Regions from separate parts of the Homo sapiens genome. Here regions 1, 3, 4 and 5 are each linked to region 2. The links are contacts of gene promoters, found by promoter capture Hi-C in blood cells and fetal thymus (Javierre and others, 2016). All regions are on one chromosome and are shown on one strand. The core of a region is centred on a gene start or on the middle of the fragment in contact, and the rest is flanking DNA. Distances in the headings are between cores, read along the strand shown. Region 1 overlaps LOC105370194 (a long non-coding RNA gene). Region 2 holds the start of ERICH6B (glutamate rich 6B). Region 3 overlaps RUBCNL (rubicon like autophagy enhancer). Region 4 overlaps LCP1 (lymphocyte cytosolic protein 1). Region 5 holds the start of LRRC63 (leucine rich repeat containing 63).

Evidence for each region. Contacts are between HindIII fragments. The CHiCAGO score rates a contact against its expected background, and 5 or more counts as called.
Region 1: a contact is called between a fragment that was not itself captured here and the fragment with the promoter of ERICH6B in region 2, in 1 of 17 cell types (naive B cells). The highest score is 5.6, in naive B cells.
Region 3: a fragment that was not itself captured here is called in contact with the fragment with the promoter of ERICH6B in region 2 in 2 of 17 cell types (total CD4 T cells and total CD8 T cells); the score reaches 5.8 in total CD4 T cells.
Region 4: a contact is called between a fragment that was not itself captured here and the fragment with the promoter of ERICH6B in region 2, in 1 of 17 cell types (endothelial precursors). The highest score is 6.4, in endothelial precursors.
Region 5: a contact is called between the fragment with the promoter of LRRC63 here and the fragment with the promoter of ERICH6B in region 2, in 5 of 17 cell types (endothelial precursors, fetal thymus, naive CD4 T cells and 2 more). The highest score is 13.5, in endothelial precursors.

The regions. Positions count from the first base shown.
Region 1 is chr13:46,291,118-46,293,817 of GRCh38, reverse strand. All of the region lies in intron 2 of LOC105370194 (a long non-coding RNA gene), which reads left to right. Among named protein-coding and RNA genes, the nearest start is that of LINC00563, 5.4 kb to the left of the region's middle. RefSeq lists an enhancer at 1-360. The HindIII fragment of the contact is 1,798 bases long and covers 495-2,292 here.
Region 2 is chr13:45,614,321-45,617,020 of GRCh38, reverse strand. It overlaps ERICH6B (glutamate rich 6B), which reads left to right and starts at 1,282. Exons shown (of 15, transcript NM_182542.3): 1 at 1,282-1,336. RefSeq lists an enhancer at 1,158-1,659. The HindIII fragment of the contact is 3,697 bases long and covers 974-2,700 here.
Region 3 is chr13:46,342,508-46,345,207 of GRCh38, reverse strand. RUBCNL (rubicon like autophagy enhancer) reads left to right here. Exons shown (of 15, transcript NM_025113.5): 14 at 377-467; 15 at 1,711-2,700. The coding sequence ends at 1,823. Among named protein-coding and RNA genes, the nearest start is that of RUBCNL, 43 kb to the left of the region's middle. The HindIII fragment of the contact is 1,699 bases long and covers 495-2,193 here.
Region 4 is chr13:46,147,786-46,150,485 of GRCh38, reverse strand. It overlaps LCP1 (lymphocyte cytosolic protein 1), which reads left to right. Exons shown (of 16, transcript NM_002298.5): 9 at 2,039-2,134. Among named protein-coding and RNA genes, the nearest start is that of LCP1, 33 kb to the left of the region's middle. RefSeq lists an enhancer at 1-490. The HindIII fragment of the contact is 1,562 bases long and covers 489-2,050 here.
Region 5 is chr13:46,210,580-46,213,337 of GRCh38, reverse strand. It overlaps LRRC63 (leucine rich repeat containing 63), which reads right to left and starts at 1,410. Exons shown (of 10, transcript NM_001282460.2): 1 at 1,079-1,410; 2 at 219-336. The coding sequence starts at 303. LOC107984578 (a long non-coding RNA gene) reads left to right here and starts at 1,486. Exons shown (of 4, transcript XR_001749863.3): 1 at 1,486-2,758. RefSeq lists a silencer at 1,325-1,654. The HindIII fragment of the contact is 5,320 bases long and covers 1-2,758 here.

The sequences.
Region 1 (2,700 bases), core at 144-2,643, 680 kb before region 2:
GTTTTGGGGAACTATCCCGGGTGTCTTCCTTACTTGTTGCAAGTAATAAAATCCCCTTGTTAAATCCTCCTTGGTTGTGGTCATTGGATGGCCACCCACCAAGTGATCATACCTGCCCATTGTGTGGGTAACAAACATAAAACCATTTGAAAAGAGCTCTGGCTGTCTTGTGAGCTTTCCACCCACCCACTTCCCATTAAGCTCTGGAATAGGTCTCTTAAGACGTCTGAAAGTTATGTAAATTGGAGATCACAATTTAGTTCAGAGTTATAAGAACAGTTAAGGACATCTTTGATATAGGAAAACTCCACGTGTTATTTTTATGGATTGCTTTGGGGGCATACAGTGTGCTTCTGAGGGAACATTCTAGGGTGGACTCTGTTACCTGGAATTGTGTGGTTAGTGTGGGCTTATCAGCCTTCACAGTGGGCTTTCTTGTAGAACTAGGATCTGAGTCTATTTGAAAGTTTTCAAGGGCTTTGAAAATGGAAGCTTCTTGGTTCTTAAGGAAAGGGGGTCCAGATTGTTTTGGGCTAGCCATGATTGGGCTGTGGTGTAGATGAGCAACTCAAGCTCTATTGTGAATGAAAAGAGAATACAGCTGTTTAGGAAAGCTGTGAGAAGGGCATGCAATGGAACCCATAGGATAGAGAGGAGGGAGATGCACCAGTGGTTGTGGGATGGAGACCTAGTTTTCTGACACCTGAGTGAGAGGGAATTGTCAGAATGGGGAAAGAGGCTGTCCATGCAGTGCAGGAGTGGGTCAGGGTGTTGGGAAGGGCAGACTCATAGGAAGCCTAATGCAGGGTCCCCCTCTCACACGCCCAGGAGCTGCCTTGAGTAGTGTGTTCGTGGCTGACCACCCAGCCTTCACGCATGTGGAGATCTCCCTCTCCTCCTCCACCCTATACATGAACCTCGGCTCCACCCAGCCCTCTGCCTCACCAGTTGACTGACTAGCAAAAGTGACCCCAAGCAATGCCACAAGGCATGCTTCTGCCCAGCCTTCCTCATGTGGACAACTTCCCAAGATATCTACAAACCCAAAGGGGGCCCTCATAGCTTAGTGTTCTCAGAGTTCCCTGTCCTGTGCTTGGGGCAGGAATCCTAGTGAAATGAGCAAAATTTAGACCCTCAAGTTGGGACAGTGCTTAACAGCATTCCGTCACCTTTTTAAGGTAATACTGTTTTCCCCTTTTTTTTTTTTTTTTTTTTTTTTTAGAGCCAGGGTCTCCCTCTGTCATGTAGGCTAGAGTGCAGTGGCACAATCACAGCTCACTGCAGCCTCTACCTCCTGGGCTCAAGCAATTCTCCTGCCTCAGCCTCCCAAGTAGCTGGGACCACAGGCCTGTACCACTATACCTGGCTATTTTTTTATTATTATTTTTTGTAGAGACAGGGTCTTGCTTTGTTGCCCAGGCTGGTTTCGAACCCCTGGTCAAGCAATTCCCCTGCTTTGGCCTCTCAGAATGCTGGGATTACAGGCTTAAACCACTGCAGCTGGCCTTGTTTTCATACTTTTAAACTTATTTGTCTTACACAGGACATCTTTTACACTTGTGTCCGCTGAAGACTACAAATAGCGGTAATTCCATTTGCCCTGTATAGAGTGGGGGACAAGGAGATAAACCTAATAGTGATGATGATAAACACCTGTAGCATCATCATGAGAGGAATTCAGGTGGAATCAAAATACAAGAACAGTTAAGAGTTCTTTGAGCTTTGACAAAAGGAATACCATAGATCATTTCCGAGTCTCTTTTTGGTGTATTGCCAAACAGAAAAGGAAAATAAAATTGTAAAGTTCCAATTAGGCAATTTGTTCTGTGATGCCTGATGTTACAGAGAAATGCCCTTGTCAGAATGCCGTTTCAAGGATAATCTATCATCATGCTTTCTGGGCTAAGAGAATGCCCAGTTAATGTCAGTGGGAAATCTGGTGTCCCAGCAGATATTTCCAATTAGATAATGACTTTGTGAAACTGTCTGTAGCTGGCCCAGGCCTTACGGAGACTATTGATCTGCTTGTTGAGCCAAATTTTGCATTACTATAAATTACTTGGGTAATGCTTACATCTTATTACCTCACTCCTAAATTAAAAGTGTCTGACAGAAGCAAGAGTGACCCAGGGATCAAAAAGTACAATTGGTGTGCATCTCTTTTTAGTTAAAAAAAAAAAAAAAGAATACAACCCATAAGCTATATGCAATTGAGCTAGAGAAAAGTACAGGAAGAAAATCAAACTGACTTATTTGTACAGTTTCAGGTAAGCCCATGGTTCTCACTAAGCTTTTTATAATTATGGCAAATGGCTTGTCTGAGTTCCAGAGGAATATGCCAATTGGCCTCATGAAGTTTCAGCTTAAAAGAAATCTAGTCATAGTAGTATTCTGGAGACACCTCTGACTTCTGCAGAATTTTCTAACATCAGCTTTCTTTATTTGAAACATAGTGGAAAATTTAACTTGTTTAGATTTTCCCAGTCATCAAACAAATTCATGTGTTGTTGCTGAAATGTTGTGAAGGGGGTCAGACATTCCAAAACTGATGTGGCACATTGAGTAGACTGATTCTTACTCTTCTCATGCTCCAGGTGTCAGGAAACAGCCTTTCTCACATTCAGGGGCAATCATGGAGGAACTCCCTCAAAAGGGACAGGTAGCTCCAGTTCCTGGACTCACACATTGCCTAGGGGCCAC
Region 2 (2,700 bases), core at 33-2,532:
GCAATAGGAATGCTTTTACACTGTTGGTGAGAGTGTAAGTTAGTTCAACCATTGTGGAAGACGGTGTGGCAATTCCTAAAGGATCTAGAACCAGAAATACCATTTGACCCAGCAATCCCATTACTGCGCATATACTCAAAGGATTATAAATCATGCTGCTGTAAAGACGCATGCACACGTATGTTTATTGCAGCACTATCCACAACAGCAAACACTTGAACCAACCCAAATGCCCATCAATGATAGACTGGATAAAGAAAATGTGGCACATATACACCACGGAATACTATGCAGCCATAAAAAAGAATGAGTTCATGTCCTTTGCAGGGACATGGATGAAGCTGGAAACCATCATTCTCAGCAAACTAACACAGGAACAGAGAACCAAACACCACATGTTCTCACTCATAAGTGGGAGTTGAACAATGAGATCATATGGGCACAGGGAGGGGAACATCACACACTGGGGCCTATCGGGGGCGGGGGGGCAAGGGGAGAGATTACATTAGGAGAAATACGTAATGTAGATGACGAGCTGATGGGTACAGCAAAACACCATGGCACGTGTATACCTATGTAACAAACCTGCACGTTCTGCACATGTATCCCAGAACTTAAAGTATAATGAGAAGAAAAAGAAAAGGAAAGAAAAGGAAGGGCAAATTGCAAGCACTTCAAAGACTGAGGTCCTTCTGAAACCTCTGTGACAACTGACCAGGAATGCCTACATAGAAGTGGTTTGCAACCCAGCCTCCCACCCCACCTGACCATTCTGCCACTCCTGCAAGTCCACTCACAGTGGCCAGGGCATGGGAACTCAGCTTTCTCCAACCCTTGGCCCCAGATCAACCCCTTGTGGGTCTCTCTATCCCTTTCAGGGCAGTTCCTTTCCTGGGGACCAGCTCCAGTGAGCCCATTCAGGGCCTTGAGAGCCACATGTCCCATCTCTTCATCTACGCAGCCACCACAAGCTTAGCACTGGACCCCAGGATTCTAGAAAGTCCCAGCCTGGAGGTCTGACGTGTACTGTCTCCATTCAGGGAAACACAATCCCCACGGCTGCAACTTCCCCCTGACACAGGCGACCTTCAGGCAGACAGCAGGAAAACTTTCTGGCCGCCGCTGACGACTGGTCCAAACAGTTCCCCGCCAGGAGAGAGGCTGGGAAAGGGAAGGCAAGGGCAGGTGCAGAGGCTTAGAATTCTCCGCCACGCACACACGCAGATTAGATGGGGCCCAGGGAGGCTGCGGAGTGCGGTTCCCATGGTAACCGAGAGCTGCCACAAACGCCGGGGCCTGAGATCGCGGTGGATGCACGCGCGGGAGCCTGGCTTGGGTAAGGGCTGCGCACGTTAGCAATGCGCTCCTCCTCCTCTTTCTCCTCCGCCTCCCTCTCCACCCACTCTCCTCCTCCTCTTCCCCCTCCTTCTCTGAGGGAGAAAGCAGGGAGCAGAGTGGAGGATCTGGGCAACAAAGAAGCGCCAAGTACATAGACTTCTTTGTTTCTCTCGCCCTTTCTCGGCCTCTCTATTCCCTTGGCCTTTCTGACATCTGCTTCGACCCAGCTTCTTCCCATTGTGAAGGCCGTTGTTGGGTCATGATATTTCTACAAATAAAGGATAAGGGGTCACTTTCTCTCCAGAGAGCCCCTAGCTCTGGGGGGAAGTGCGAGTGTGGATACTATGACTTCTTCCTTGACAGCCTGAATATAGACCAGTCCCCCAACCAGGAACAAATTCCCCAGATCGAAAACTCCAGCCTTGCCCACGAAGCGACTCCTGTGGCCCAAAGGCAAGTCACTCAGCTTCCCCTGTTTCCTTCCCCTACCTCTCTAATGTGGGGGGTAAACAGCAGTCCTAACTGGCCTTCCAGGGAGATGTGAGCAGTGACCAAGGTCAGTGTTTTTACAAGTGTTCTGTTCCAAGTGATGGCTCAAAGTCACCCTCCTTGAAAGTTCAAACCTGAATATATTCGAAATTCTATTTATAAAAAAGGTCCTAGGAAATGATGTTGTAATGAGTGCACTGGGTGTCTATAGTGCTAAACACTGCACTGATTGGTCTAAGGGGGTTGCCAGAACATTTTGATTTCATGTTTGCCCCCTGGCATGTTTTAATGTAGATCCAGATCAGCCCAGGCCTGGCACCATGGAATTCACAGAAGTAGGTCATCAGTTGTTCCCCTCATGGGGGAGAGCAGCAGACTTCAGCCAAGAATCACACAAGTTAATGAACAAGGTTATAAACAGCTATGGTAGATGATAACAGCAACAAGAACACATTACGTTTGCAGAGCACCATGGAATCCTTGGAGTCCTTTACAGAAATGAGGCTTCTCACCTTGATCCATCTAGGGTTTCCAAGCATCGGCTGGGAGAAGCCCAGTGAAAGCCAAGGGTCACCCACTCCATCTTCTTCACCAGCTCCCAGCTTGCTGTCTTAGCCCACCCATAACTCATCTCTTGAGTTTCCCCCATAGCAGGAGGGAAAGTGAAGTGATGGGGGCTGAAAAGTCCAAACCAGAAATTTCATTTGTGGTCAGCCTCCTGTGTGCCTCTCCTTCCGTTGGATCATCCATTCGATCCACATCCTTCTGTTGAAATCCTGCTACGTGCCTGACATGGTGCCGGGCTACAGTCTCATGGGTGAGGCAGACACACAAACCAGGGAGAAGTGCAATAGGAGAAAGGCAGTGAGAGAG
Region 3 (2,700 bases), core at 95-2,594, 730 kb before region 2:
GGCCCACTCTGCCCTGATGCACCAAGTATAGTCATGTGGAACCAGGATTCAATGGAACAGGAGGCTCTGTGTCTACACGGATTGAAGAATTGTAGTGCAGCAATGATAAATGAAATTAGATCATTTCAGAGTGCATGTTTACAATTAGGACCTTACTCTGGTACTTTAAAACTGCTTTGATATGGAATTGGTTGAATGTACATTTTTATCTTTTTTTTGATTCTGACCCATTCATTGCTGCAAAACAACATCCTTTTCCTTCTAGAGGCTGGAATCATAGACACTGAAACACTGATGTTTATAAAGTTCTGTAATAGTGAAAACTCAGCTTATCCATCAAGAGAAGGTTGTAACTTTTTGATGTCTTCTTTTACAGCTGTGTCAAGGAAAGGGCTTTATTTGTGAATTTTGCCAGAATACGACTGTCATCTTCCCATTTCAGACAGCAACATGTAGAAGATGTTCAGGTATTTAATAACTTAATAACATAAGCTTAATAATAGGTTAACTAATTAAACTAAGTTTAGTAACTTAAGCACAAAATTAACTTAAGCTGAATAATAGCTTAATAATTTAAGCACAGTTATTTAAAGTACAGTCATGCTGGTGTGTGCTTGTATGCTGGATTGGAGATAATGAAGTTTTGGGCACAGAAGGAGGAGTATTTGGGTGGGGCAGGGATAAAGGATAATGTCTTCTGGTGCAGGGTTTGGATAGAGGAGATGGTCCCTTTGTTGCCTGTGCCCACCTCTCTGTCTTGTAATTGGATCATTCATGCCCAGTGGTGAAGTCTCTGGCTGCTTTTGTGCCACGGAGGCAGAGTTGAGTAGCTGTTGTAGAGACCACATGGCCCTCAGGGTCTAAAACATTTGCTATCTGGCTCTTTACAGAAAAGGTTGCCGACCCTTCTGTGGTATTAGTGCCCGAGAGAATCCCGTGTTCTGTAAACTCTGTTTAATGGGAGAGATCCTGGTAATGAACTCTGCCTTCACCCTTGATAGGGGCATATCCTCCTCTCAGGCCACTCCAGTGTTGTCTCCCCAACCCTTTAGGCAGTGTTGCAGGACTGGCTCCCCAGCAAAGAGACTCTGGGGCAGAGACTTGCCTACAAAAAGTTTCATGTTCTTCAACTTAATACCTGTAGGGGTGTGCAGGCAGCAAGACTGGGAGAGGGAGAAGTTGAACTGTGGTGGGGTTGCAGTGGAGCCCTCAGCTCATCTCACGGGGAGCTCTGGAGTTTGGTGGCCTTTCAGCATTGTTCCAAACTGGGGACAAATTGGGGCCGGCCTACTCACTATATAGTGATCAGTCATTGAATGCAGGCTGGTGCCAGGAAGGGGACAAAGCAGCTTTCTCGATGTAGGGCCATATCTAGAGAAACAATGTGGCTTCCCAAGAGTTATCAGCCACCACCTCTCTTGGCAGCTGGGGAAACGCCTGCCTCAGTGCTTGAGCAGATCCAGGGGGCACTGCAGTGTCCGTTACATCAGGCTCTCTGAGCCTCCTGTTCATGACCTGTTGGAAGAGTCCAACAGGTCTGCTGAAATGTGACCTGCTGAAACGTGCGTTTCAGCCTGGCTGGTTTCTTTTTAGAAGACTCTGGGCTCTGGATTCAGACCCCTCTCCCTCCCTAGGATGGAGACGAATGTCTGCAGAAATGTGAGAAAACAAGATAGACCGTTTGCTAACGGCTCTCTTCCTTGCTTGCAGCGTGCAGGGCTTGCTTTCACAAACAGTGCTTCCAGTCCTCCGAGTGCCCCCGGTGTGCGAGGATCACAGCGAGGAGAAAACTTCTGGAAAGTGTGGCCTCTGCAGCAACATGATGCCCCTGAGTACTGTGAAAAAGACTGTTCAACATGCCTTATGATAACACCGATTTGTGTCTATTATTGGTGACATTGTTTTAGATATTGGGTATTGTATATTAAGGAAAAAGATGGTCTATATTCTCTTTATTGCATATACTTAATGTTTCAAAAGAATGCAGATTCTGTGTTTAAGCACAGGGCTGATAGTTGTGGTTTTGTTTACAAATGTTCTGTTTTGGCTGCTATTGGTTTTTTAAAGAGGTTTTTTATACTTTTGTATTTGAATAGTTATGTTTCACTGATGCTGAGCCAGTTTGTATGTGTGTGCATATATGTGAACTGTAACTGACAAGATGAATTACTCAGTTTCTCTTTCTCTAAAGCTTGTTTGATGAAACTGGTTGGTCCTTTCAGTGAACAAAAATATGACCCCAAATCTGTTTGCTCTGGCTTTTATTTCTTCAGGAAGCAGACTTCCACTTAAATGCCATTTTGTGATTGTGTCAATCATACACATTTTATTTACTTCAGAGTTTGAATAGAGAGTACACATTTCTTCTGCAGATTTATTTCATGATGAGTTTGAGTTGCTTAGCAGGGCGTGTGGGTCCCGTTGAAGTGCAGTTTGAAGCAACTGCTTCTAGATGGCACTCTTTCAGGTGGCACAAATTGAACCTGTATTTGTCATCTCTGTTCCACACACTGCAATGTCAAGGGATGCAGAAGTGAGTAGAATTCCATCCCTGCCCTTGAGGATCTTGCTTTAACAGATGTAAAACTGAACATAAGGTATTTGCAGATTTAAACGAACTGGGGGAAATAATGAACAGTGTGATTCTAGTAATAACATTAAAATCATAGACATTGACTAATAAGGTTAAATGAATCACAA
Region 4 (2,700 bases), core at 20-2,519, 530 kb before region 2:
TTATATGTGTATTCTCTTATTGAATCCTTACAACAACCCCATGAGGTAAGGGTTATTATCCTCTCATTTTACAGATAAAGAGACAAAGAGGTCCATAGGGGAAAGGCTGAGGCAGGAATACACTGTGGTTTTCAAGTATATGAAAAGTTCCCTGTCAAGGTGAAAGAAAACAGCTATTGGCAATGATGACAGATGGATGAAGATAGAAAGTGGTTAAGGAGCAGAAAGGAATGGAAAGCGGTCCCTAGAAGGAAAGAGTAGGAGATGCTGGGATGCAACACCAGGAAAATACTTCAGTCTCCACTTTCTCAAACATTAAATAACTTTTCCCCAAAGAGAAAGAGTCAGAGGAAAGTTCACATGACTCAACAGGAGTACACCTAGGCTTGTAATTCTTTGAGTAACAGTTTCCCACTGCTATATGACGTGCATTCAGTGGCATTTAGAACTCAGCGTGTGTCAGGCACTGTGCCAGTCAGAGTCAAGCTTCTAGATGGAAAGCCCCCATTTTTTAGGATCTAAGCTAAATCCATCTTTCTAACTATGCATCTTTCATGGGCTATTAACATTCTTCTAGCACCACCAACCGACCTGGGTTTTAACAGGAGCTGGCTGTCATGCTCTCCCTTTGTGCTCAACAGTTAAGCTCTGCAATTGCAAAACTTTTCAGACAAAATTAGGCTGTCAGATCTCAGCTGTAAATTTACCTAATTTCCTGTCATTAAATGGCTGTGTTCTCTAGAACCACCATTTTGTGCTTTGGGAAGTGTCTGTATGAGATAGGAGCTGGCCAGATGAGCACTTACTTATACAGTGTTGTGCCTGTTCTCTGGCAGCCGCTGCATGGCAACTGACTCCGTGCTGTCATGTGTATGTCTGAGTAGCCAGCCAGCAACCTTGGGAGATGTCTTTAAATCGTGTAAATTGGCAAAGGCGAGGAGAACACCCAGGCTAGAGTGAGTGAGAAGGTTCATGAGAGTCAGGTGAAATGAGGTTACTCTTAGCCAAACTAAAAAGATGTAACCCAGGGCAGGCAGATGGTATTGGTGCCTGACACCTGCATGTGACTTTCACTGACTTCAAAATAGCTACAGTGAAAAGTCAGAGAAGGGAGGGTAGATAGAAGGGAGATGAAGATCATTTTCCCCAGGTGCAACATCAATGATTCACACTCTCTGGTTCTCCTCTTTCTAATGCCAAAAGTGGTGAGCATACCTCTCCTCTGCCCAGGCCTTACCTACCCTAACCAGTTGTAGAAACAAAATAATAGCTGATTTTTCGATCTTTATGAGAAATTGAGATGCTATTAAATGATTTAAATAAACTACCTGAAAATCTGTATGCTTTCATTGACTAAGAATAAATTTATATTTTAAGACTATAATTCTGAGAATTCTTTTTGTCAATAAGCATATTTTCAGAATCTAAGAAAACTTGAGAATTCAATACCTGTATCTAATCTGCTATAACTAAATTGAACCATTTTTCTAGCTTCTAGATAAATATGAAATGCACTTTTCTTAATATTTCTCCTTTTACGTAAAGATTGCTTGTTAATGCTTCAATCTTCTGTCTTTGACATCTTTTTCTCTTGCTGATTGTCCATTTAAATGTATTTTAAACTCGCTTTAAACTTGTGCTTCCTTTTTCTGTCACTTTTTTTTAATTAAACCTTAGCTGACTGACTTCTACAGCAATATAAAGGTATATATATATTTTCCTGTATACAATTTAATTCATGTAAATAAGTTGTTTTTCTCCCCTAAAGACAACAGAATAATATCCACTTCTTTAGGGTGCCTTTTGTGTATATCTTGTCTATTTTATTGTTACGCTCCTTTTAAAAAGAAAAGCAAATGTGATATGTAAAGAGACAAATAGAACATTCAAATTAGTGAATGTTTCTAGCTTTGTTAAGTTACATTCTGGAATGATAGCTGAATATGAAATAAAATGTTTGCTTTTGGGAAATCATTGTTATGCTAAGTATGTAATTAGCTGTGCTATTTTGAAATTGGAATTTCTTAATTTCTCACAGGACTCAAAAGCTTATTACCACCTGCTTGAGCAGGTGGCTCCAAAAGGAGATGAAGAAGGTGTTCCTGCTGTTGTTATTGACATGTCAGGACTGCGGGTAAGGCCAGGTCCCAGTTGTGTTTGGAGAATATGATGCTATTTTCATGTTGGCAGTTCCATTACCTTGTGTGGCCCTGATTCTGGAGTTCCATGACTGGGCATTTCTGCCTAAAGCCCTGTTAAAACGGTAAAACTGTGAGCAGTTTGGGATAATAATTGATGAAAACTGAATCTGGAAATACAACATTAAAGAAAGAAACCAATAGTAATTAAACACCATCCAGCATGCTAGGCAATTCTATATATGTTCATCATTTAGTAGACTCTATAACCCCACATGGGTCTGAATGTTATAATAAAACTTCTGTTTTGCCGCCACTTTAATACTGATCTTGAGAAGTCTCTTTGCCCGTTTCTGTGCCTCATTTAATATCACTGGAGTTAAATCCAATGAGTTCATGTTGAAGTCAACTGATTCCTAATGAGAAGTAGAGTAAAAGTAAATGACAAGTAAAGCTCATGAAATGCATAATGTGTAGCGTTATCTAGTAAAGGGTCATATTAAGAAATCATCCTAATTTAAAGTTTTGTTTTCTGAAAATTGGTGGTTTCATGTACTTTAAG
Region 5 (2,758 bases), core at 161-2,660, 600 kb before region 2:
CAAGTAAATTTTATCGATGAGATAAACTTGAATCTACTAAGTCCACCAATAAGTATCAGTAAATGCATCTGTGGAATTGAATTGGATGTTATCACCTGACAACAAACATTTGTAAGTTATTAGTGAGTGTATTTATTGTGATTCTGAGCTGTGCAAGTCAAGGAATTTCTATGAAAGATACATAAATGTTAATACACATATCTGATTAATACACATACCTGTATGGGTTTTTTTCTCATGTAAAGACAGCTTAGTGAATTTTGGAGGTAAGGGTCTTCGAAGAAGCAGTGGGGGCTTTTGCATTTTAATGAATAATAAGTGCTGTTTTTCATAATCCTTGGTTTAAATGAGAATTGAAAAGGTTTTGAATATGTTTGAATTGTTGAAAAATAATAAGAATTTAGATTACATCTTAAAGAAAATCATTCTGTACCAATACTCTACTGAATCCAGGCAGAATTCCTTTATGAAAAAAAAAGAGGGTAAGAAAATAATTCTTTAAAACTTCTATTAATAGAAAGAATCCAGTTAAAATGTAGGGTTATAAGTAAACATAGAATTTTAAAAATATGTGTATTATTACTACCCAGGATCATTCTACAATTTTCCATGTTAGTACAAAGTTCAATTTGCCAATGCTATTTCAACTAGTAAATACTGATTTTTCAGAATAGTCGAAATGACATTTTTTTTCTCTCTCTCCAAAATGTTATCGCTATAAATGTAGAAAGAGAATTTGGTCAGAAATGTGTAGAAGATGCCTTCATTAGATAAGCCTCTGAAGACCCACCATATCTAACCATTCACAAACAAATTGTTTTCTTTCTATAATGGCTTGTTTTTCAACCACTATGCTTGGGCCAAAACAATTCAATCCTAAAATAAGATGGGTTTCACTATAATGAGATTTCCCAGGGCTGCTGGATCCCAACTCATACTGTTTAGAAATAATGCGAGAAGATGCACCCCCAAAATGTGCTTTTAGTTTGCAGGGCAACATCAAAAGTGCCTGGCACGGCATTATTCCATTGATAGCCTAGAAGGGAACACCCTGAAACTGCACAAATGGGCCGTTTACCGCCAAAAGATAACTGCACACAAGCGCTCAAGGTGTACTCCCTGGTCATATGTTCCACACGATGCTGGAAATCTCCCTTCCGTAGTACCCAAAGAGGGGCATGGAAGTGCTGGACTCCCACACTACCCTTTAGGATAATCGGCCGCTTTCCAAACCAACTGGCTTTTCGTCTCCTATCTCCTTTTCCTCGGAATCTAGGCAGCGAGGTAAAGGTCCAGCGAGGGTCTTCCTGCAGGAGGCTGTTCCCGAAGAAGCACCACGGATCCCCACCCTCTAGGAGGCCAAGGAGACACACCCTAGCAACCGGGGTCCGCTAAGCCAGCCCAGCCACTTGACGCGCAGGCGCGGGGGCGGGACAGGCGAGGCGGGCGCGGGACAGGCGAGGCGAGGCGGGCGCCGGGAGGGGCAGGCCCAGCCCACGGTGCAGCGCGCGCGGAGCCCTCGCCTTCCTCCGACGCACTGTGGGGCTGCAGGGGAAGCTGCGGGCCGTGGGGGCCGGAGGAGAAGCCGGCTCCACGCGCAGCTGCTGTACGGAACGCCGTGGTGACAATTGTTATTACTATTTTTATGCTTAATGGCAATGACCACTATTATTTATTATTTTCTCTCGATTACAGGATGCTTTACTTGGGTGTCTAGAATATGGGCTGGCATTCTTTAAGGCTGCACTTTTGTGCAGCCGGGTCCCGGGGCTAATTTTGCAGTGCTCTCGAAAAGCGGGCATTCGGTTTTCTTTCTCTTCCTTTCATGCAACCTGTTTTCTCTTTCTGATCCTTTAAAGTTCCTGGCTGAGGCTGGATTGTGTAGAAATAAGGGCATTAGGGATCCAAGCGGGCCATAAAAGAAACCCATTTCTCACTGTCATCGTCCTCTGTTCTGGTTATCATATTGTGACGTGTCGCCTCTGTCATGGTGTTGATGAACCTGTGTGTGCAGTCATAGATACATCGTGTGTGTTTGCAAAAATGTGCGTGTTTCTCTGGAGATTTGAGGGGGAAAGAGCACTAGAAAGAGCTCATCTGATAGATGCGGAAATCCGAACTCAGAAAGTAAACTAGGTAGAGCTTCCTTCCAGGTTTGGTTTTTTCTAAGTACTAGCGCAGGAACTTTATAACAGAAGTTGGAAAATGAGAGACTTCTGTATAAATCTTTCTAGCTTTGGGGATCTTTCAAGATTCACACCATAACCATGTCTTCCTTTTTCTCCTTAGTAGCAAACATGTTTTAAAACAATCAATGAAAAAAGTAGAAAAGTTTTAACAAAAAAGTAATCAGACTCTGGAAAATATTATGCAACTTGTTTTCCTTTACAGTAGTAGTGTACTGTTTCTTTTCCTTGTAAGTTTACTGTGTCCCAATTATACTGCTGCCCCAGACTATGAATTTATTTCCACTTTTGCTGTTATCTACACCATAGATTCATTAGTTTCTCAGAAATACAAAGCTGAAAATAAAAGGCAGCTCTGTGGCTAAGATTAGTCTCAAGTAATATATATCGTGCATATTTTGTAAATGTGAAAAAAGGTTTATATTTTTAAGCATAAAAAATGACAGTGTAAATTGAGTCAGGTACCTATGCTCTTCAAGATCGTTGGAACCATGAGAACTACAGGAATTCAGTTTTACTGACTGACGTTTGGCCTTTAAAATTTATGCTTAGCTTTGTGTAGTCGAAAGCAA